Linked DNA regions of Homo sapiens: regions 1, 2, 3, 5, 6 and 7 are each linked to region 4. Evidence: promoter capture Hi-C in 16 types of primary human blood cells and fetal thymus (Javierre and others, 2016). All regions are on one chromosome and are shown on one strand. Each heading gives the region's core, a stretch centred on a gene start or on the middle of the fragment in contact. The rest is flanking DNA. Distances are from core to core; before and after follow the strand shown.

Region 1 (2,700 bases), core at 101-2,600, 410 kb before region 4:
ACACCTCTTTGGAGCGGCAATTCTAGAGCCTCCAAGTGTTCATTCCCTTTGGCCCCCCCATTGCATTTTTATAAAATCTAATTTAAAGACAATATAAACTATAGAAAATGGTTTTTGTACAAAGATGTGTACGTAGCAGCATTACAAATGACCTACCCAATAATATGGTTAAGTTATAGAATGTCCACTTGGCAAAAAATTAAGGCTTCTAAGAGGGCTAATAAAATTTTAAGACATATACAAACCTATGCTATTATGTTCAGGAGAAAAGATAACATTGTACATAGAGTATTAATGCAACTATGGGGAAAGGCTTCAATGTACCTAATTAGATGGAAAGATCAAAAATGCTAATTGTAAGTTATCCTTGTTGGAAATGCAACTCCCCCCAACCTTTTCTATATCTTAAAATTTCTGCAAGAGCAGGCATTACTTTTTAAATTGAGAACACGTTTTTTTCTCTAAGTCAATTTTACATTTGCAGCAATTAATGGCAGAATTCTTCCCTCCCTAGATTTTCCTGGGCACAAAGCAAGAGGAAGCTCCTGATTCCAGGGGCAGATGGTGGTGGCAGTGAGAGAGCATGAACACTGGCACAGCAGCACTGTGTAGTGACAGATCCAAAAGTCCGCAGGCAGGAGACTCACAGCGATGAGGTATTTCCAGCAACCAAAACCCCACAGCCATGCTATACACAACTTAATCTCTGGGGGGCAAGAACAGCAAGTATTCTTACATGATTTTGTATGCAGAATTCCAGACTCTGTAGGCTCTGCTTATGGTGACAGACGGCTGTCCAATCCATCCAATTATTGGATGAAGGAAAATCTTTTAAGCCTTATCATATGTTGACTTTGCTTAAAAGCCCAGCTCCTATACAAAGGCATATGGTGTTCACAACAACAGAGGTGTACACACACCATATGCGGTCTGTGGGCAGCAAACAAACAACTCACTAAACCAAAAACACTCTAGGAAACAGGAAGAACTTTCAGTCAGTAAGCACATGTTTATCTTTCCCATTAATCACCTCTCGGTACACTCTCACAAACAGACTGATGCAAGAGACAGGAAATAAAGGCACACCACACTCATCCTACTGAAACAAGCTAGTCAAGGTGCAATAACCCAGTTATTTTAACACCGGCCTGAAGGCATGCAAGCCAAGAAGAGCAAGAATATCATATTCCGAAGAAAACACAGCAGTAAAATGGCATCTTTTTTGTTTGTTTCAGCCACTTAAAGGTATCACAGATAAACACAGATTAAGAGGACATGGCCAAATTCCAGGAATTCACCAGAAACAAGACATGCAGACCAACATGATTTAAATTCCTGTTCATAACCTGATCTTTGCTGTACAGTGTTTGCTCAGTCACACAGACTCGTCTTCAGATGCAGATTTTCCTGGTTTTCTATAGCTTATCCACTGGTCACCTGACACTGAGGCCTCAGGTCCCAAGATATGCCCTGTATCAGGAAGGTTCCAGTTAAGATTCAGGACATTGGCAGGAGACAGGGGAAGATTCCCGGGACAACTACATTGGTGTTTAAGAACTGTGATTTTTTTTTTCTAGGCTTAGGAGAAGATAAACTCCAGTAGGAGGGCCTTATGGTTATCTTAGCATTTCCCATCCACTCAGTAAAATAAGCACCTGGAATAAGCCTCTTCAAAGCTGCAGCCCAGGTAAAGACACAATTATTAAGACAGTTCTGACAGAGGCAGACACACTGCTGCTTGGCTTCTGAAATGTAACAATGACCTAATTCTGTAAATGTTTTTCTTTAAGAATCATCTGAATTCAAGATTTGCTTTAAAATACTACAGAAAATAATTATACGGGGGGCGGGGAGGACAGATAAAACAAGAAGTGGCAGGCTGTTGATAACAGTTAAAGATGAGACACGGGAACACTGGAGTGTTATTTTACTACTCTCTGTACATATGGTTAAATTTTTTCATATTAAAAAAGGTTAAAGAGAAAATTATCTTTGGAAAGTCAGCAAAAATAAAAAGAGCATTATCTGAAAATGTGCACTAAAAGAGTAACATGAAAAAGTGGTTTTGATTTAATAATGAGAACTGATATCAGGTAAGATTCTTGCTTTAAAAAAAAAAGTTTTCAGCCATGTGAAAAGAAACACTGTCCTACCTGTAGGGATGTAAACAAATACTGCTGTAAAATAAGCCACTATCTATATGGGGCCCGATAAGAATAAAAGCCAATGTCACCAAGTTGTTTTACTTTCAGAAAAAAAAAGTTGTGGGGGAGTTACTTCACAAATATAAAAAGTGGCTGTTATGTAAGGTAAAGGTAAGGTTATCTGGTAAAGGTAGAGGGAAAATATAGCTGAAATCAAGGTTTGGTCTCCCAGGATTAACACGGGAAAGAAACAAACCTGCTCACTGATCCCCTGGGAGCAGCCACTGGCCTCAACTCCACTCCCCGGCCCCCATCGTGTGTCCAGCTGAGGCCTGGAATGGCACAAGTTTTACACCTGCAGGAACTGACATCCTGGGTGAGGTCACAAGATGCTCATTGCTAGGCTAATCTAAATCACTTCTTTAAGCTCAAATAACAAAACAGACGTCCACATCTTTCCTTTGTCCAAGTTCATAAGGGTAAAGTTTTAAACATTTCTGTCCCCAAAAGCAGTGAATTTTTGTCCCCACTCCCTCCTCCACACAGGGAGGAACAT
Region 2 (2,700 bases), core at 59-2,558, 480 kb before region 4:
TATAAAGAGGTAAAACCACCATCACAACAGGAAATTTTAACATATGTCTCTTACTTATGAGTAATGATGCGGACAGAAAAAAAAATCAGTGGTGTAAATGCTTGAACTGCATCTATAAAGTAGAGAATACAAATTCTTCAAGAAGATGAGTTTTAAAACGCTTATATATTTGACAGTTTAAAAACATAATCTAATGCATTGGTCAAAGAAGAAATCATAATGACACATTTATAAATTCCTAAAATTGAATGATAATGAAAATATCATGTTAAAATTTCTGCGAGGCGCAAAAGTTGTGCTTGGAGGGAAATCTATAGCCTAGAATGCTTGTATTAGAAAAGAACTCTGGGCCAGATGCAGTGGCTCATGCCTGTAATTCCAGCACTTTGGGAGGCCAAGGCAGGAGGATTGCCCCTGCCCAGGAATTTGAGACAGGCCTGGGCAACATGGTAAGATCACATCTGAAAGAAGGAAGGAAGGAAGGAAGGAAAGAAAGAAAGAAAGAAAGAAAGAAAGAAAGAAAGAAAGAAAGAAAGGAAGGAAGGAAGGAAGGAAGGAAGGAAGAGAAAGAGAAAGAAAGGAAGGAAGGAAGGAAGAGAGAGAGAGAGAAGGAGAGAGAGAGGGGAAGGAAGGAAGGAAGAAAGAAAGAAAGGAAGGAAGGAAGGGAGAGAGAGAGAAAGAAAGAAAGAGAGAGAGAAAGGAAGGAAGGAAGAAAGAAAGAGAGAGAGAAAGGAAGGAAGGAAGGAAGAAAGAAAGAAAGGGAGGGAGGGAGGGAGAGAGAGAGAAAGAAAGAAAGAGAGAGAGAGAAAGAAAGGAAGAAAGAGAGAAAGAAAGAAAGGAAGGAAGGAAGGAAGGAAGGAAGGAAGGAAGGAAGGAAGGAAGAAAGAAAGAAAGAAAGAAAGAAAGAAAGAAAGAAAGAAAGAAAAAGAAAGAAGGAAAATAAGTCTGATGGCCAGGCATGGTGACTCATGCCTATAATCCTAGCACTTTGGGAGGCCAAGGCGGAAGGATCACCTGAGCTCAGGGGTTTGAGACCAGCCTGGGCAACATAGTGCGATATTATCTCTCTATTAAAATAAAAAATATTACAAAAAAACCCTTCCCTACAAAACTCAATAGGATAGGCAAGTCTCCAGTGAAATCGATATATAAAGAAAAAGAAGGCATGCGTAAACATGATTAGGAATGTAAATGGAAACGTAAACATGAGAAGAAAGAAAACTATACAAATTTATAGAAACAGAAAGTGAAACAGTAGTTGCCAGGGGCTGTGGGAGAGGGGAAATGAGAGTCCTTTAAATGGATTTAGTTCTGGTTTTGCAAGATGGAAAAATTTCTGGAGATGGGTTGCAAAACAATGAGAACATACTTAGCATTAATTGCTGAAGTGTACACTTAAAAATGGTTAATTTGGTACATTTTATGTTATGTGTATTTTACCACAATGAAAAATAAAGAAGACTATAAAAAAGTTATGCTACAACATAGGAATTGAAGTAGATCAAGTCTTAGACAAATATAACTTACCAAACTTATTTAAGAAGAAATAAAAAGCCTAAATGGTTCTATAACTATTAAAGAAATTGAATCAGGGCCGGGCATAGTGGCTCACAGGTAATTCCAAGAAAGTGCTTACGGCTAATCCCAGCACTTTGGAAGGCTGAGGTGGGAAGATCCCTTAAGCCCAAGAGTTTGAGACCAGCATGGGCAACATGACAAAACCCCATCTCTACAAAAAATACAAAAACTAGCCAGGCGTGGTGGTGCACGCCTGTAGTCACAACTACTTGGGAGGTGGAGTTAGGGGGATGGCTTGAGCCTGGGAGGTTGAGGCTGCAGTAAACCGAGATTACGCCACTGTACTCTAGCCTAGGTAACAAAGTGAGACCATGTCTCCAAGAAAAAAATAAAAGAAAACAAAAAAACTTGAATCCGTAATTTAAAGATCTTCCCATGAAGAAAATACCAGGTCTAGATGGTTTTGCAGAAGTTCAAGTAAGGGTAACTCTTTAAAAAAAATTATTATTATTATTTTTTTTAGAAATGGAGTTTTGCTGTATTGCCCAGGCTAGTCTCAAACTCTTGGGCTCAAGAGATCTTCCTGCCTTAGTCTCTTGAGTAACTGGGACTATAGGCATACAGCACTGTGCCTGGTTAGTAATTCTAATTTTATAAAAACTCTCTCTGAGAATGGAAAAAATGAAAACATTAACTCTTTCCATGAGGCCAGTGTAACCTTAATATCTAAACAAGACAAGTACAGGAAGAGAAAGCAATATTAGAGGCCAGTTTCACTCATGACTATAAATGCAACAGTTATAAGAAAAATACTGGTAAATCAAATCCGGCAGTGTAAAAACCAAAAGGCATCACATTCTAGTTGGGTTTATCTCAGGTTTGCAAGGATGGTTTAACAACGAAGAAATGTCTATAAACATTATTTATTATGTTGGTAATAGTAGACTTTGGTGCTCTGTGTCATATCACTTCTGCCCTCTGCTGATTTCAGCTGTCCCTACAGTGGATGATTTTGTGCAAGCCTAGACTCCCTTTTAAGCTGCCAGTGCCCCTCCACCTACCCCCAAACTTATACTATGCTTCTTTTTGCTTTTCGTCTCAGGGTCTTCTTCAATGCTTTAGGAACAATTTACTTGCCAGCTAGTGATTCCCAGAAGTGTGGGAGAGTTAAGGTCCCTAGAA
Region 3 (2,700 bases), core at 123-2,622, 430 kb before region 4:
AAGGAAGAAGAAAGGGCATTTGAAGTGTGAGGTGAGGAGCAGCCTGAACAAAGGCCCCGGGGAAAGATGAACATGGGGCTTGTAGAAGTCAGGGAGAAGGTGCACATGGTTGGGCCACGCAACTCACATAGAGAAACTAACAGGGTGGAGGAAGGGCATCGTGGGACTGGATGAAGCAGGGCCATGAACACCAGCCTGGGGAGTTTAGATTTGATCACAAAAGCAAAAGGGAATAATCAGGGATTCCTCGGCTTTAAGAAGCTGTTTTTGTCATGTATCTTTCTTTCAAAGTAGAATGTGGCATGTGCAGAAACTGTTTTTGAGAACTTAAGATTTGTGTTTTTCATTCTTAACCTGCAGGATGCTCATGCATAGCAAAGTCATTCTTTGCTAAAATGGAACAGAAGTGGTTAGGCAGCTGCGAGCCCTCCGTAGTGGACTTACCACGACAGCAACCCCCTCGTGTACCATTGAGGGAGAGGCATAGAGGCTGGTAGAGTATTTCCCAACATACAGAGTGGGCCTAGGAGAAAAACAGATACATGCATTCCAGAGTCATTGAATTTCCAGATCCCACAGAAGGGAGTAATCATCACCCCAAATACCACCCGCAGGGATGACCACATTAACCCCCCAGACATGGAGGAACGCAGTAGGGGTGTGAAGCTAGGGGCACTGCCCTGGGAACAGGACCACAGGACTTCATCCCAGCTGTCACTCACTGCAGAAACATGGACAAGCCACCTAATGGCAAGCCTCAGCAAAATCGCAGGGCTGGACTAGACGATGCCCATGATGCCTGCAGAAAGGACTACGCCCAGTGGCCACAGAGGAGACTGAGTGCTTACTACCACCGCCGAGGCCCCTCAGATGACTCTCTACAACACACTTTCACTCCAGCGATCACTCCAGCGACCACCAGAACTACCCCCATTCTGCCTTGTGCTTTCTAAGGATCCTGGAGGTTTTACAGAACTCCTGAGAAATGGTCAGCTGCTCTACTCTGGATGCTGAGAGCAAAAGGGATGCATAAGAAATTCCAGACTTGGTGAGACTTCTGGTTCCCCAGCTGTGTAGTCTGTCCCCATGTGGGACATCAGGGAGACAGAAAATGGTGAGAGCTACACCTCCTGGCCCTTCTGCTTACTGTCAAGAGCCCACCTGGGATCGGTCATCCACTACATTATCTAAACCTCTCTCAACGAATACCTTACATTTGAATGCTGTTTTACAATCTAAACACTTGCCGGCATATTATCTTGTTTGATCTTCCACACAACTCTATATATAAAGTAGGAAACTGAGGCTTGGGGAGTTTAAGTGACTCGGTGATAGGCTATGAAGAGGGGGATGGAGAACAGAAGCCTGCTGAGTCTTGGACACACACACACACTGTAACTATTTTTTCTGATTTTTAAAATGAATATAACCTAAAAACTTAGAAAATATAGAAAGTTAAAAAAATAAATCTCTTGCATCCCTACCACCTAAGATAGATCCAAACTATACTTACACTGGCAGTCTCTTTCCTATACCTTTATTTGTGTGTGTGTGGTGGCAGGGGGAGGGTCTTGCCATGTTGCCCAGGTTGGCCTCAAACTCCTGTGCTCAAACAATCCTCCCACCTCAGCCTCTCAAGTAGCTGGAATTACAGGTGTATGCCATGGTGCCCGACACCTCCCATCCATGATTTTTATGTAATATTTAATAACTCTGAAGTGTTAATGGGTGCCCCTCAGCTCTTGTATTCTGAGGTTTCCAAATGAAACAGTCTTGGCTCTGAATATTCCTCATGGCTTCAGAGACTGCCCTGTCTTTGGCCTCCCGTGCAGGGCCTGCTACACTGCAACAGCACCAGAACACGAAGGCCACGGCCGCCCTCTCCTTCCCCGAGCTCCCAACTCACGTCAGCTTGCTCTTGGCCTCTGTCTCCTTGGGGAACGGGTACTTCCACTTTGTGATGCGCCCCACCTCCCCAGACATGAAGGTCAGATAGCGCAGGGTCTCCACAGCGACATTGATGTGCATCACCTTCCTCAGACCCTCCCGCTGCCAGACATAAAAGGCCACCACAGGGGAGGCGTAGTTTTGGATCCACAGGACGTCCCCAGATTCACTGTCCACAGTCACCACCAGCCCATCACCATTGGACACAAAGTGGGACATCTCTGTACAGATCAAATAAACAAAGCATGCTGAGTCTCACCCCATCTTGCAACCACATCCTCTACTCTTGTGGCAGGCTCTAGTCACTCAGTTAGAGGAAACAAGACTTCTGGAATATTCTCAGATCTCCTCTGAGCAATTTCACTTGTTTCCAATGAACTCGCTTAGTCTCTGTAATATCAAGACACTGAGAGCTGGCTGGCGTATAAACACAAGCCAGGATCACTCTCCCAAAGGCAATTTATTTGGTGATGTTCTTTAACACTCTATTCAATAAGTGAGAGTAAATACTGAGGAGGAAGGAGCCAGTGGAGATGCCTATTAATCTGGCATTTCATAGCAGTCACTTGAAACCCATCGATCAAACTGAAAGTCAGGGACAGCTGTGGTGGCTCATGTCTATAAGCCCAAGAATTTGGGAGGCTGAGGTAGGAAGATCACTTGAGTCCAGGACTTCAAGACCAGCCTGGGCAACATAGTGAGACCCCCGTCTCTACAAAAAAAAAAAAAAAAAAAAATTAGCCAGGTAGGTGG
Region 4 (2,815 bases), core at 267-2,766:
CTGCACTCGAGTCTGGGTGACAGAGTGAGACCCATATTCAATTTTAATTTACCAATTCATATTTAATTTACCAATCCATATTTAACATTAGTTTATACGTACCTTCTTTTACATATTATCTCTTCTTTTACAATGAATATCTTGGTTCCTAATAACAACTAACCCAACTATTTGAATTTTTTTTTTTTAAGACGGAGTTTTGCTCTTGTCACCCAAGCTGGAGTGCAGTGGCGTGATCTCGGCTCACTGCAACCTCTGCCTCCTGGGTTCAAGCGATTCTCCTGCCTCAGCCTCCCAAGTAGCTGGGATTACAGGCGCTCGCCGTCACGGCCGGCTAATTTTTGTCTTTTTAGTAGAGACGGGGTTTCACCATGTTGGCCAGGCTAGTCTCGAACTCCTGACCTCAGGTGATCCACCCGCCTCTGCCTTGCAAAATGCTGGGATTACAGGCGTGAGCCACTGCGCCTGGCCTTGATTTATCCTATGATATACATGAAATAGTTTCAGAATTATAATTTCAACATTTTTACTTAGAATAAATCTAAGAAAAGTTCAAAATGTCTGTGTAGTTCCTTATGCACTTAGACTACATTGCACTAAATGACAGCACTGTGTTCAGAAGTTGCCCCGTGAAATTGAGAGCGTTCCCAGGTCCTTCGGACAGATTGTTTAAGGAACAGCAATGATTCCATGGACCAGTTTTCTCCAGGGTAGAGCACTGTTAATATATCCGACTACTTCAAAAAGATGAGAACTAACTAACTTCCTTGCATGGGAATACAGGGCCAGTTGCAATCCCCAAGATCCAGCAAGACTGCCTCGCCTTTCCACCCGACACCTGTTTTGAAGCATGAAATCGTGAAGCATACCGTGAAGAAGGTTCTCCCGTAGTTTCCCAGAAGTTTTTAATACGTTCTCAAGAAATGCTACTAGCTGTTCCTTACTCAGCTCTTTGTCTTGCAAGATTTCGCGTAGAGTTTCTGCAGAAACTAACCTGAAGGCACTGTCCCCGGGTAGCAAAGGGCCTGGTTTGTGGTGGAGGGCGTCCACCGGGAATACCTGCTCCCTGAACACCACCACCGAGGTCCACCATTCTGCGGCCAGGTTCTTCCGCAACTCTACGCCCAAGGGTCCGAAGCCGGGGTGGCACCCACTCAGAAGAGAATCCCGGCTAAGCTGCTGCTTGCTTCCACTTAGGAAATGCCTTCTCTGACAGATCTCTAACAGCGCCTCGCTTCCCTCTCCAGACCCGGGGGCTTCTGGGTGCTCGCCGTTCCCCTCGAGCTCCGCGTGCGACTTCACATGCCCTCCTTTGGGGCTACTCCTTTCCGTCAACAGCTCCGGCTGCCCCGCATCTACTCGACCCCCAAACCCAGACAACAGGCACCTGCAGACCTTATGGCAGGCCCTGACGGCTACACGAGAGCGCATCTCTCTCCGAAGTTAAAGAGCACACTCTCCCATCACTCAACGGATCCCAACAAGCCACCACTACCGTTAACAGAATCCGGAGAGGCCACGGCGCAGGCGCAACGGAGGTGAGCGTGCTTGCGGGCGGCAGGCCCCACCCCGGAAGCGCATGTCTGCGTTCCGGCCGCAGCCGTCCCCCGCCCACCATGGCGGACGCCGGCTCGGATGGTTCTCTGCTAGCTTGCCGTTCGCGTCGCGCCCCTCCCTTCAGATTGACTTTTTTCTTTCCTCGTAAGCACCAGTAAAGGTTATTCCCACCTATTTATAACCGTGGTGTAGCCACTTGAGTCACTTCCTTCTGCCACTGTTTTGCAGTCCAGAAAATTAAAATACTTCAGTATTATCCAAATCACCTTCTATATACACCTCAATCAAGCACTTGGACTAAATTTGGCATTTGGTTTCCCTTTAAACAGTTTTAGTCCTTTACGGTGATTTGTAAGCCCAGGCCTTCTTAACTAGGCAAATGCTGCCGCCAGGTGGCCTAGGCCTAACCCCAGAGCCGTTGTCTTGACGCTTAAGCTTCCGGGGAGGGGGGCGATAGGCTTCGTGACTAGGGTAGTGGTATGGTCACTTTAAATATTGCAGTGGCTTCCAAAGGGCAGTCCCCAGCCAGCAGCATCTGCCTCACCTGGGAATGCACTAGAAATAAACCAAGGGGCCCTGACATGTCTTAAACCCTCCTGGTGTCAGAGAAAACCACGTACGTGCAATTTCTTCCAGGGGCCCCTTCTATGGGTTCATCAAAACAATGAGACTTGTGACTGTTATTATTAAGAGACTCATGATTAAATTGCAGGTTTCTGATTTTGCAGTTTCTATTTAAATAGGTCGAGACCTTAAGACCTACCCAGAAAGTGGAAAAGTGGTATACCCAGACTGAGGAAGTTTGATTCCAAAGTCCATGATTTCTTATACCAGCCTCAGTTACGAAAACCTTTAAAGAGGTTCAGGGAAAAAGGAACAATCTACATTTCACTGTGAGACTACCAAACTACTACCTGATTAAGAGGGGTAACAGCTTAGCAATTGAGTTAATGTAATTCAGGAGTAAAGTTTTATCATTAGTAAAGTGCTGTACCAGGTTCAGGAAATAGTTCTTCTTTACAAGTGTATACAAGGGTTTAAAAAAAGGCCAGCTAGATAGTAATTAACTGCAAAGCTGGGTACTACTGCCAGGTGTTTTCCACATTCAGGAACTCACACCAGGTAAAAGGCCTATACGCAAATAAATAAAAAGAGAGAATGGGGAGAAAAATCACATTTATTAGTTAAGACGACCACAGGCTGGACACAACACACATGCTAAAAAGTGGACTGTCTTTTAAAACTTCCAAGGTAAATA
Region 5 (2,809 bases), core at 123-2,622, 460 kb before region 4:
GAATGCAGAGTAGGTGACTGGTAATGCTTTCTAGGTAAGTGGGGACTCCCCATCACAGCTTTAGGGACACTGAAAAGGAATACTGTATCCACCAAACACACACACAGTACACAGGGGAGGTGGGGGGGCTTTGGCCAAAGTGTTGGTTAAGGCTGCTCCAGTGGGAGGCTCACTGCAGTCACGTTCTTTGTGGCTTTCCAACGTCTACAGAAAGAATTTAAGCGCCGGTACAAAAAATCAGAACCAGAGTTACTCACGGGAAATCACTGTTTCATAAAGAAGGAGGGGAGTAGACCATTGGGTTTAAAAGATGATGTCCAACCTGGGAGGGTGGAATTTCGGCTCACCTGGAGAGGATGCCTGATGACTTCCTGCCAGGAGAAGCCAAAGCCAGGACATAGTCAACCAAAATAACTCCAGGTTGGTGAGGGAAGGGACAAGGAAAAGAAACACTGGGAAATTCAAAGAAAGGCAATCTCAGACACTAAAAGAGCAGAGAGAGAAAGCGACATGGGGGACTTAAAGAGGCTCCTTCCAGGGCGCTGGGCTTCTCTTCCAGCACAGAAGGCTGCAAAAGTGGAACTGGCCCCCAGTTCCCAGAGGATCACAAGGCCAAGGATCCAATGGGCACACCATGAGGACCCAAGGAAAGGACAGAGAAAGGAACGGCTCTGGGAAAGCCAAACCTGGCCAAAGTCCAACTTCCTGAAAAGAAAGCAGCCAAGAGGAGAAAGCCGTACAATCCAAAGGTCCCCCCATCTGCATGAACGGTTTGATCAGCAACCAATTAATCTCTCACTGCAGCAAGAAAAGAATTGCCAAAGATAACTGAATCGCATGCACACAAAACCTTACCAAAGGCTCAGGGTCAACTCTGATAAGGCCCTTTCTTCTAGAGTTGGTGGGAAGAAACTCTGCTGGATCTACTCACCTGCAGATCTTCCAGAACATCTATCTGTAACTGATCAGAGTGATGTCTCCTTGGAAGGGCCTCTGACCACCACTGCACTGAGAACACGGCGGGAGTGAGAACACCTGCGCACCCAGGATTTCACACTTAGCCACTAGATTGCTTCACAGCTAATCAGGGAAATGCCAGTGTTCCCCAGGTGAAAATGTTTTGGTGCCTAATGACTTGTGGAGCACTTCAAAAACTGAGATTAGGCCGGGTGCGGTGGCTCAAGCCTGTAATCCCAGCACTTTGGGAGGCTGAGGCAGGCGGATCACGAGGTTAGGAGATCGAGACCATCCTGCCTAACATGGGGAAACCCCGTCTCTACTAAAAAAAATATAAAAAATTAGCCGAGCGTGGTGGCACACACCTGTAATCCCAGCTACTCGGGAGGCTGAGGCAGGAGAATTGCTTGAACCAAGGAGGCGGAGGTTGCAGTGAGCTGAGGTCGTGCCACTGCACTCCAGCCTGGGTGACAGAGCGAGACTCTGTCTCAAAAAAACAAAAAACAAACGAAAAAACACTGAAATTAAAAAGACTCAAGAAGCAACAAGAGAAATTCTGGCACACGTGCCCAAGAGAGGTTTAGTAAGACAAGATTTAAATAAGTCATAGTGTCCTTTGGATTCCTAACAGATGTGACCAAGCTCCATCTTGAAGATAGCGTACAGTACTTCTAAAAAGCTCAACAGCCTTCCAGGATTGGAGAAGTCCCATAACCTGAACTACAGACCAAACAGCTAAGCCGCAACACGATATGTGATGGTGCAGAGCTGTTCTGGCCTGAAAAGAACTTTCCACTTGCTGAGCACAGTGGGAAACCAGAATTCTCGAGACTAGAACTGGATACACCAGATGATGCCCAAGGTGTTTTCATGACAAGTACCCACACGAGATCTCTTCAAACAAACCCCCCAGAGGATGGACGGGAACCAGGGCTCCTAAAGGCGACTAAGAGGAAAGACCAGAGGTGACCGGACCAGATCCCTGTGATTCTGGGACAGAAGAGATGTAAACCGCAAACACGCGCCCTTCCCCACACACTTTGGTTTCTTTGTGGCAGCAACACTTTTTTATTGTTCTCTCTCATCACAAGTTTTAGGAAAGCAGAAGTTTTGCCTGTCTTGTTCATCGCTGTATCTCCGGCACCCTATATCCTGCCTAGCTCAATACACTAAGTGCTCAAATAAAATACATTGAATAAATGATTTTGAGAAATCTGCGTGGTTAGAAACTAGTATGATAAGCAGAAAAGGCATCGGAAACAGTTGTCTCTAGGCAAGTGGGGCTAAAACAGGGAGATGACACAAAATTGGGTCACTAGAAATCACCTGGGTACTCCCAAAGAGAAAACCTGTGCTGAGAACGAGCTGGGCTGGGGGCACTCCCTGTGGCAGGCCTGTTAAATCACTCGTGGCACCTTCTCCACCTTCTGATCCTCTCTTGGGTTACTGCCAAAGCCCACAGGTAAAGCACCTTGCAGCCGTATGGGGAGCTCTGTCTCAGGCCACCTGGCATGCGGCATGGGAGCAGCAGGAAATGCGGTCTGGCCACGTTTCTGAACAACGCACAGCCTTGCTTAGAAGACGCCAAGGACACCGACCAAGGGCCAAGGTTCCAAGGCCTAAGTGAGGTAATCGATGAGATTTAAGGATGTAGGATCACGTTAATAGTAGGGAAAAAAGTCACTTTAGCTATGATGAAAGGAAGGGAACTGAATTCTACAAAGGCAGAATGAGAGCTTTTGATGAGTAACCATGATACAAATACACAAACAGAAAACATCTTACAACATGAAGAAACAGTGATTTCTCTGTGAGTAAAATTCAACAATCCCATTCTTAATACTGAATGGAA
Region 6 (2,700 bases), core at 134-2,633, 500 kb before region 4:
TGGGCTCTGTCCCCAGCCTGATAGCGCCCGTCTTCCCCTGCTGCTTGGCCCCATCAAGGACTGACTTCCTTGGAACTCCATCCCTCAGCGGTCAAGTCCTCTCTTTTTCATTATCCCCGGGGCGTAGTCTTATCTTTCTGCTCTCTTTCCATGGATACATTTTCACTTCCCAACAATGCTGGGACAAGTGACCATACTGCTTATGCCTCCAGGGTTCAGATGGCACATTGCACACGCAGACACTTCCTTGGTCAAGGTTTGTTGATGATGAGCAAAATGGCTTGTTCTCTTTCTACCTGGAATGAGAATGGAGATGGAGAGAGGCATCTCTGTGTTCTACTCACTGGGGGGCTGTGACCCCAGTGCCTGGATCTCAGCTTGTTAATGGCTGTTGAAGCCATAAGACCCATGGGGACAGTAAAGTAATGCCCACAAGCCTGCTCCCCTAGAGACAGGTACTACGGAGCAAAGGAGGAGGTGGGAATGGTCTTTCTGGTTCTTACTCCAGGACTGGCAGGAAGGGGAGCTGACATGGAGAGTGGGGGAAGGGCTACTCGGGGTGCTAAGCCCAGCTTCCTGTCTGGATTTTCCTTGACTGCTGCCGGGGGCCTATCTTAGGATGGTCACAGCTGCAGAAATAGATCTCCCCCTTCACCTGTTCTTAAGCAAGGAAGACCTTGCTAACTTCCTGTCAAAAGAACGCGTGCTTTGGTAACTTTTCCAGTACGGGAGACAGTACTGGGGACGCGGGTGCTGAAGTCACCACGATTTTCCTCGTCTGAGGAGCAGTGGCTCACCTTGGCCAGGAAACAGGGCAAATAGCCGCAAGGAGAGAGGCGAGAAGCCGGCCACGTGTTTCCAGCCAGAGTCCTCAGCCTCTTCCGTGAATTCGGGCGGTGTTTCCTTCCTTGGTCTGCTCCAGAAACCACTCTTTCCTGGCAGGAAGCCCCTCTCTCTGTCAGAGTGACAGGGAACAGACCCTTTGTCCTCCTCACTCGTCTGCCCTAGCCCCCAGCCTGCTCCTGCAAAAGTCTCTGTTTCTCCTGAACTTTTCAGCTGAGTCAATCGGGCTCTGGGACCCCGAAACCAAGCCTCCCCAGTCACTCGCTTATTCACTCAACAAACACACCCCCCTTCCCCGCACTAACCCAGGCCCAGTTCTGGGAACCAGCAAGGGGAGGGGAGGGGAGCCCCGAGCAGCGCGGCGGGAGGTGGACATGCCGGGGAGGAGACTGGCCTCCTGGTGGCGGGGGAGGGCTCCTGGGGACCCCAAGTCCGCGGAGGAGGAGACAGGAGGGAGCAGGGAGATGGAAGACCCAGGAGCACGGGCGGGCTCCGCGCATGCGTGGGAAGAGACCTTGGCGTCCTCGGCGTCGCCAAGGCAACCGGCGCCAGCCATGGCCTCTGGGGCGGGCGGAAGCTGGGGTCGCTCCCCACCGCAGAGCGCAGTCCCGACGGTGAGGGCTGAGCCCGGGAGCAGATCCTGCCTTAGCTTGGGAGACGGCAGAGTGGGGAGCTGTCCCTGGAGGGGCCAGATCCTGGAGGGGTGGGGGACGAGGAGAGACAGCCCCAAACCGAGAGGAAGAGGCGTGGCAGGGAGCAGGGAGGCCGCGGGGCGGGGAGGAGAGAACCTGGCCCCTGCGGGGTTAGGGAGGCCACTGGCCGGGGGGGTTGGGGCTCGCGACGTGTCCCCATCCATTCCCCCCACCCCACCTGGCTGACTCCGCGCACACCCCCAGCCCTGGGTCACCTTCCTGCAGCCCCTCTCGTGGGCCGTCCCACCTGCGCCCCCGCAGCCAGGCCGCGTGAAGGAAGGTGAGACTCCCGGGTCCCCCCACCCCACCCCCACCATCACCACCACTCACCCTCTTCTGCCTCGCACATCCTCTGGGAGTCCCCGCAGCACAACCCGCCAACCCATTCTTCACCCCCGGGACAGGGGTGTCAGGGGGAGGGGGACTCGGAGGCCCGGCGTGGGCTTGCTGAACCCCGCTTCCTAGACCTGCTGGAACTGATGATGCTGCAGAACGCGCAGATGCACCAGCTGCTGCTGAGTCGCCTGGTGGCTGGAGCGCTGCAGCCCCGGCCTGCCTCGCCCTGCCCTCAGGTGCGTGTGGGTGGGCCGCCGGGGTCGCTCACCTGTGGGTCCAGGGATGCGGATCCACCTGGGGTTCCTGTTCAGGGGGGAAAAGAACTGGGAGACAGAGGAGCAGGAAGCCAGCCCGTCTCTCTGGCTGGGGCTGTTTGGCATCTGTCATGTTTCAGCCTCCATGAAAGGTTGGGGCGGGGAAGAGACCCCCCAAAGTCCAGACCACCGAGGTCTTGTTTTCAAGGAGGTTTCCCTGTAGTGCCTCCCCCACTGGACTTAAGGCTCCAGGAAGGTAGGCACCCTGGTAACCCTGCCCCATGCATCATGAGCGTCTGGCCTGGTGCCTGACACCGTGTAGGGGCTCAGCTGATATTTGTTGAACGAGTGAATGAATAAATGAATGGTTAGGGATACAAAGCCAGGTTGGCTGTGATGGCACATGGAGAGGTACAAAGCACAAGTGCACATAGGGTTGGGGGATGGGGACAGGCTCCTTGGAGGAGCAGAGGATCTTAGAACCAGCCCTTGAAAGCCAGGTAGGATTTTGACCCTTGGAGGAGGCGAAGGGTGTGTCCCCCATCCAGGCTGGCAGGGGCAGAGTCAGGAGACAG
Region 7 (2,700 bases), core at 1-2,500, 330 kb before region 4:
GAAAAGTAGCTTCCATGCTCTACAAATTTTATAAAACATTTACTTTAAAACAACTATCACTCTCTTGAAAAGCTATAATTAGTTTTTCTCCTACCTTGTTCCTAAGCCATTTTAGGAAAAATGTAAATATGGTTGAAGTGGAAAGAGGCTCACTTGCCAAGGGAGGCTACAGTAAAAACGTCAGTGAGAATTCTCTCTGCATGCTAATGGGCTATTCTGGCCTACCTGGCTCATTCCTCTTTTTTTACCAAACTCCTGTGTACTAAATTTTCCCTGTCAAGATCCTTTTAAAACCGTATTTATGGTTTATGTGACATAAGAGATACAAATCCTTACATCATCATCATCATCATGTTACACAAACTCTCTACAATCTGATCAACTCTTTAACCCCCCACCCACAAAAGCAGACATAAATAATGTCTTAGTAACATGTTTAAAAACTCAAATCTGAGAACTTTCCTCCAGCAAGGAGCCCTACTCTCAAAATATTGCCTTTGAATATACTGTACGTCTTCATTTCTCAAACATGTACTGAGCACCTACTAGGAGTAGCAAGGAACATAAAGACAGAAGACATGAAAGTCAAAAAATCTGGAACCTACAAGTCAGGAGAGGTAAGGATGTGAACACATGTGAGGAGAGGCAGCTCCTGGCAAGCGGCTAGGGCTGGGGCAGCTGCACCCGTGAGGGCCATGAGAGGTGAGCGGAACTGAAATCCAGCCACTGCCTCATGCCCTGGCAAGGGCTGCAACCCCTACAAAAGCACAGGCCCCATCAGCTGGCATGTGTGCATCACTGGGCTGGAGGAGGCCCTATAATAACCAAGAGACTAAAAGACTTAGGATGGGAGCTTGGATCTATTCCAAATCTTTTTTTTTTTTTTTTTTTTTTTTTGTGAGACAGAGTCTCGCTCTTGTCATCCAGGCTGGAGTCCAGTGGCACGATCTTGGCTCACTGCAACCTCCGTCTCCTGGGTTCAAGCGATTCTCCTGCCTCAGCCTCCTGAGTAGCTGGGATTACAGGCACCCGCCACCACGCCCGACTAATTTTTGTACTTTTTTAGTAGAGACGGTGTTTTGCCATGTTGGCCAGGCTGGCCTCGAATTCCTGACCTCAGGTGATCCGCCTGCCTTGGCCTCCCAAAATGCTGGGATTACAGGCGTAAGCCACCATGCCCGGCCCCAAATCAGTTTTAAGGCCATGACTGGTAAGAACAGAAAGACACTCAACATGAAACAGATGATTTAAAAAGTCCTCAACACCCTCCAAACACAAAGCCATCATGGTACTGAATCTGCAGCAAAGGATATATTTTAACACTCATAGAATGGTCAGTTAGGAGTTACCTTGGTGATCAACGTAAGGCTTGAAGGCCTGGAGGATTTTTGGCACAGCCACGCCCATGTCAAGTTCCGTCAGAGTGAGCTCATTCATAAAGTAGGGGAGCTAGAGGAAACAAGCAAACAATGAGTGAGACCCATGAGCAACCTACAAAACATGCTGTTGCAAGTCAACATGCTTCCGGAGAGGATGGTGGCCAAGGTTTTGGGGACATATCATTTATGTAACGAAAACGTAATGTGCACACATCATGTACTAGGCTTCGTACTCCAGACAGAGCCATGAAGAGGTCAGGCCAGGGCCTGGCTCTCACGGGGTTTATAATAGAAAGGCAGAAACAGGTAAATACATAGACAATATACTTCCAGAGAGTGATTAGTGCTGCAAAGAACATCAAGCAGGTAATGGGCAGAGGGAACACGGGGGTGGCTGTTTTGGCTGAGGAGGTCAGGGATGGCTTCCCTGAGGAGTGGCATTTGAGCAGAGGCCACCTATGGAGAAGGAGCCAGCCATGCTGGTTAACAGTACCCCACATTTGCTGAAGTATGGGAAAACAGACCTCTCTCAGACTCTCAGTGGGTAGTAAGAAACTGCTACAACAAGGTCAGGTGCGGTGGCTCATGTCTGTAATCCCAACACTTTGGGAGGCCAAGGTGGATGGATCACTTGAGGTCAGGAGTTCGAGACCAGCCTGGCCAACATGGTGAAACCCCAACTCTACCAAAAAATACAAAAATCCACCAGGCAAGGTGGCATGCACTTGTAGTCCCAGCTACTCGGAGAGGCTGAGGTGGGAGGATCACTTGAACCTGGGGGCAGAGGTTGCGGTGAGCTGAGAATGTGCCACTGCACCCCAGCCTGGAGGACAGAGCGAGACTCTGCGTCAAAAAAAAAAAAAAAAGAAAAGAAGAGAAATTGCTACATTTCCGATAGGCAAACTTACATGTGTATGAAAATCCTTGAAAAACAGCACATGCTGGCCAGGCGCAGTGGCTCACGCCTGTAATCCCAGCACTTTGGGAGGCCGAGGTGGGCGGATCACGAGGTCAAGAGATTGAGACCATCCTGGCTAACACGGTGAAACCCGTCTCTACTAAATATACAAAAAATTAGCCGGGTGTGGTGGCACGTGCCTGTAGTCCCAGCTACTCAGGAGGCTGAGGCAGGAGAATTGCTTGAACCTGAGAGGTGGAGGTTGCAGCAAGCCAAGATCGCACCACTGCACTCCAGCCTGGGTGACAGAGCGAGAATCCGTCTCAAAAAAAAAAAAAAGAAAAATAGCACATCCTTTGATCTCATGCTGAACATTTTCTGTTTGCCCTGCCAGATCTACACTCTATCCCCAGTGGTTGGTCT

The links. The method cuts DNA at HindIII sites, captures the fragments that hold promoters and counts their contacts. A CHiCAGO score of 5 or more calls a contact.
Region 1: a contact is called between a fragment that was not itself captured here and the fragment with the promoter of POLG2 in region 4, in 1 of 17 cell types (monocytes). The highest score is 6.4, in monocytes.
Region 2: a contact is called between a fragment that was not itself captured here and the fragment with the promoter of POLG2 in region 4, in 2 of 17 cell types (monocytes and megakaryocytes). The highest score is 6.0, in monocytes.
Region 3: a contact is called between a fragment that was not itself captured here and the fragment with the promoter of POLG2 in region 4, in 1 of 17 cell types (monocytes). The highest score is 9.5, in monocytes.
Region 5: a contact is called between a fragment that was not itself captured here and the fragment with the promoter of POLG2 in region 4, in 1 of 17 cell types (monocytes). The highest score is 5.2, in monocytes.
Region 6: the fragment with the promoter of PRR29 here is called in contact with the fragment with the promoter of POLG2 in region 4 in 13 of 17 cell types (monocytes, erythroblasts, M1 macrophages and 10 more); the score reaches 11.3 in monocytes.
Region 7: a contact is called between a fragment that was not itself captured here and the fragment with the promoter of POLG2 in region 4, in 1 of 17 cell types (monocytes). The highest score is 6.5, in monocytes.

The regions. Positions count from the first base shown.
Region 1 is chr17:64,081,288-64,083,987 of GRCh38, forward strand. All of the region lies in intron 2 of ERN1 (endoplasmic reticulum to nucleus signaling 1), which reads right to left. Among named protein-coding and RNA genes, the nearest start is that of ERN1, 48 kb to the right of the region's middle. RefSeq lists an enhancer at 1,071-1,190. The HindIII fragment of the contact is 4,037 bases long and covers 1-2,700 here.
Region 2 is chr17:64,013,844-64,016,543 of GRCh38, forward strand. All of the region lies in intron 1 of ICAM2 (intercellular adhesion molecule 2), which reads right to left. Among named protein-coding and RNA genes, the nearest start is that of ICAM2, 5.4 kb to the right of the region's middle. The HindIII fragment of the contact is 3,017 bases long and covers 1-2,700 here.
Region 3 is chr17:64,064,765-64,067,464 of GRCh38, forward strand. ERN1 (endoplasmic reticulum to nucleus signaling 1) reads right to left here. Exons shown (of 22, transcript NM_001433.5): 8 at 1,907-2,168; 9 at 445-523. Among named protein-coding and RNA genes, the nearest start is that of ICAM2, 45 kb to the left of the region's middle. The HindIII fragment of the contact is 3,663 bases long and covers 1-2,700 here.
Region 4 is chr17:64,495,538-64,498,352 of GRCh38, forward strand. It overlaps POLG2 (DNA polymerase gamma 2, accessory subunit), which reads right to left and starts at 1,517. Exons shown (of 8, transcript NM_007215.4): 1 at 870-1,517. The coding sequence starts at 1,431. It overlaps DDX5 (DEAD-box helicase 5), which reads right to left. Exons shown (of 13, transcript NM_004396.5): 13 at 2,717-2,815. It also overlaps a transcript of MILR1 not described here. RefSeq lists enhancers at 694-1,553, 1,205-1,274, 1,655-1,794. The HindIII fragment of the contact is 2,967 bases long and covers 1-1,990 here.
Region 5 is chr17:64,039,701-64,042,509 of GRCh38, forward strand. It overlaps ERN1 (endoplasmic reticulum to nucleus signaling 1), which reads right to left. Exons shown (of 22, transcript NM_001433.5): 22 at 1-2,809. Among named protein-coding and RNA genes, the nearest start is that of ICAM2, 20 kb to the left of the region's middle. The HindIII fragment of the contact is 3,607 bases long and covers 1-2,809 here.
Region 6 is chr17:63,996,968-63,999,667 of GRCh38, forward strand. It overlaps PRR29 (proline rich 29), which reads left to right and starts at 1,384. Exons shown (of 6, transcript NM_001164257.2): 1 at 1,384-1,457; 2 at 1,740-1,815; 3 at 2,001-2,107. The coding sequence starts at 1,398. PRR29-AS1 (PRR29 antisense RNA 1) reads right to left here. Exons shown (of 3, transcript NR_126169.1): 1 at 1,358-2,700; 2 at 798-955; 3 at 1-296. RefSeq lists a silencer at 1,267-1,316 and an enhancer at 1,570-2,547. The HindIII fragment of the contact is 13,369 bases long and covers 1-2,700 here.
Region 7 is chr17:64,169,751-64,172,450 of GRCh38, forward strand. It overlaps TEX2 (testis expressed 2), which reads right to left. Exons shown (of 12, transcript NM_001288732.2): 7 at 1,350-1,449. Among named protein-coding and RNA genes, the nearest start is that of SNORA50C, 25 kb to the left of the region's middle. The HindIII fragment of the contact is 4,971 bases long and covers 1-2,700 here.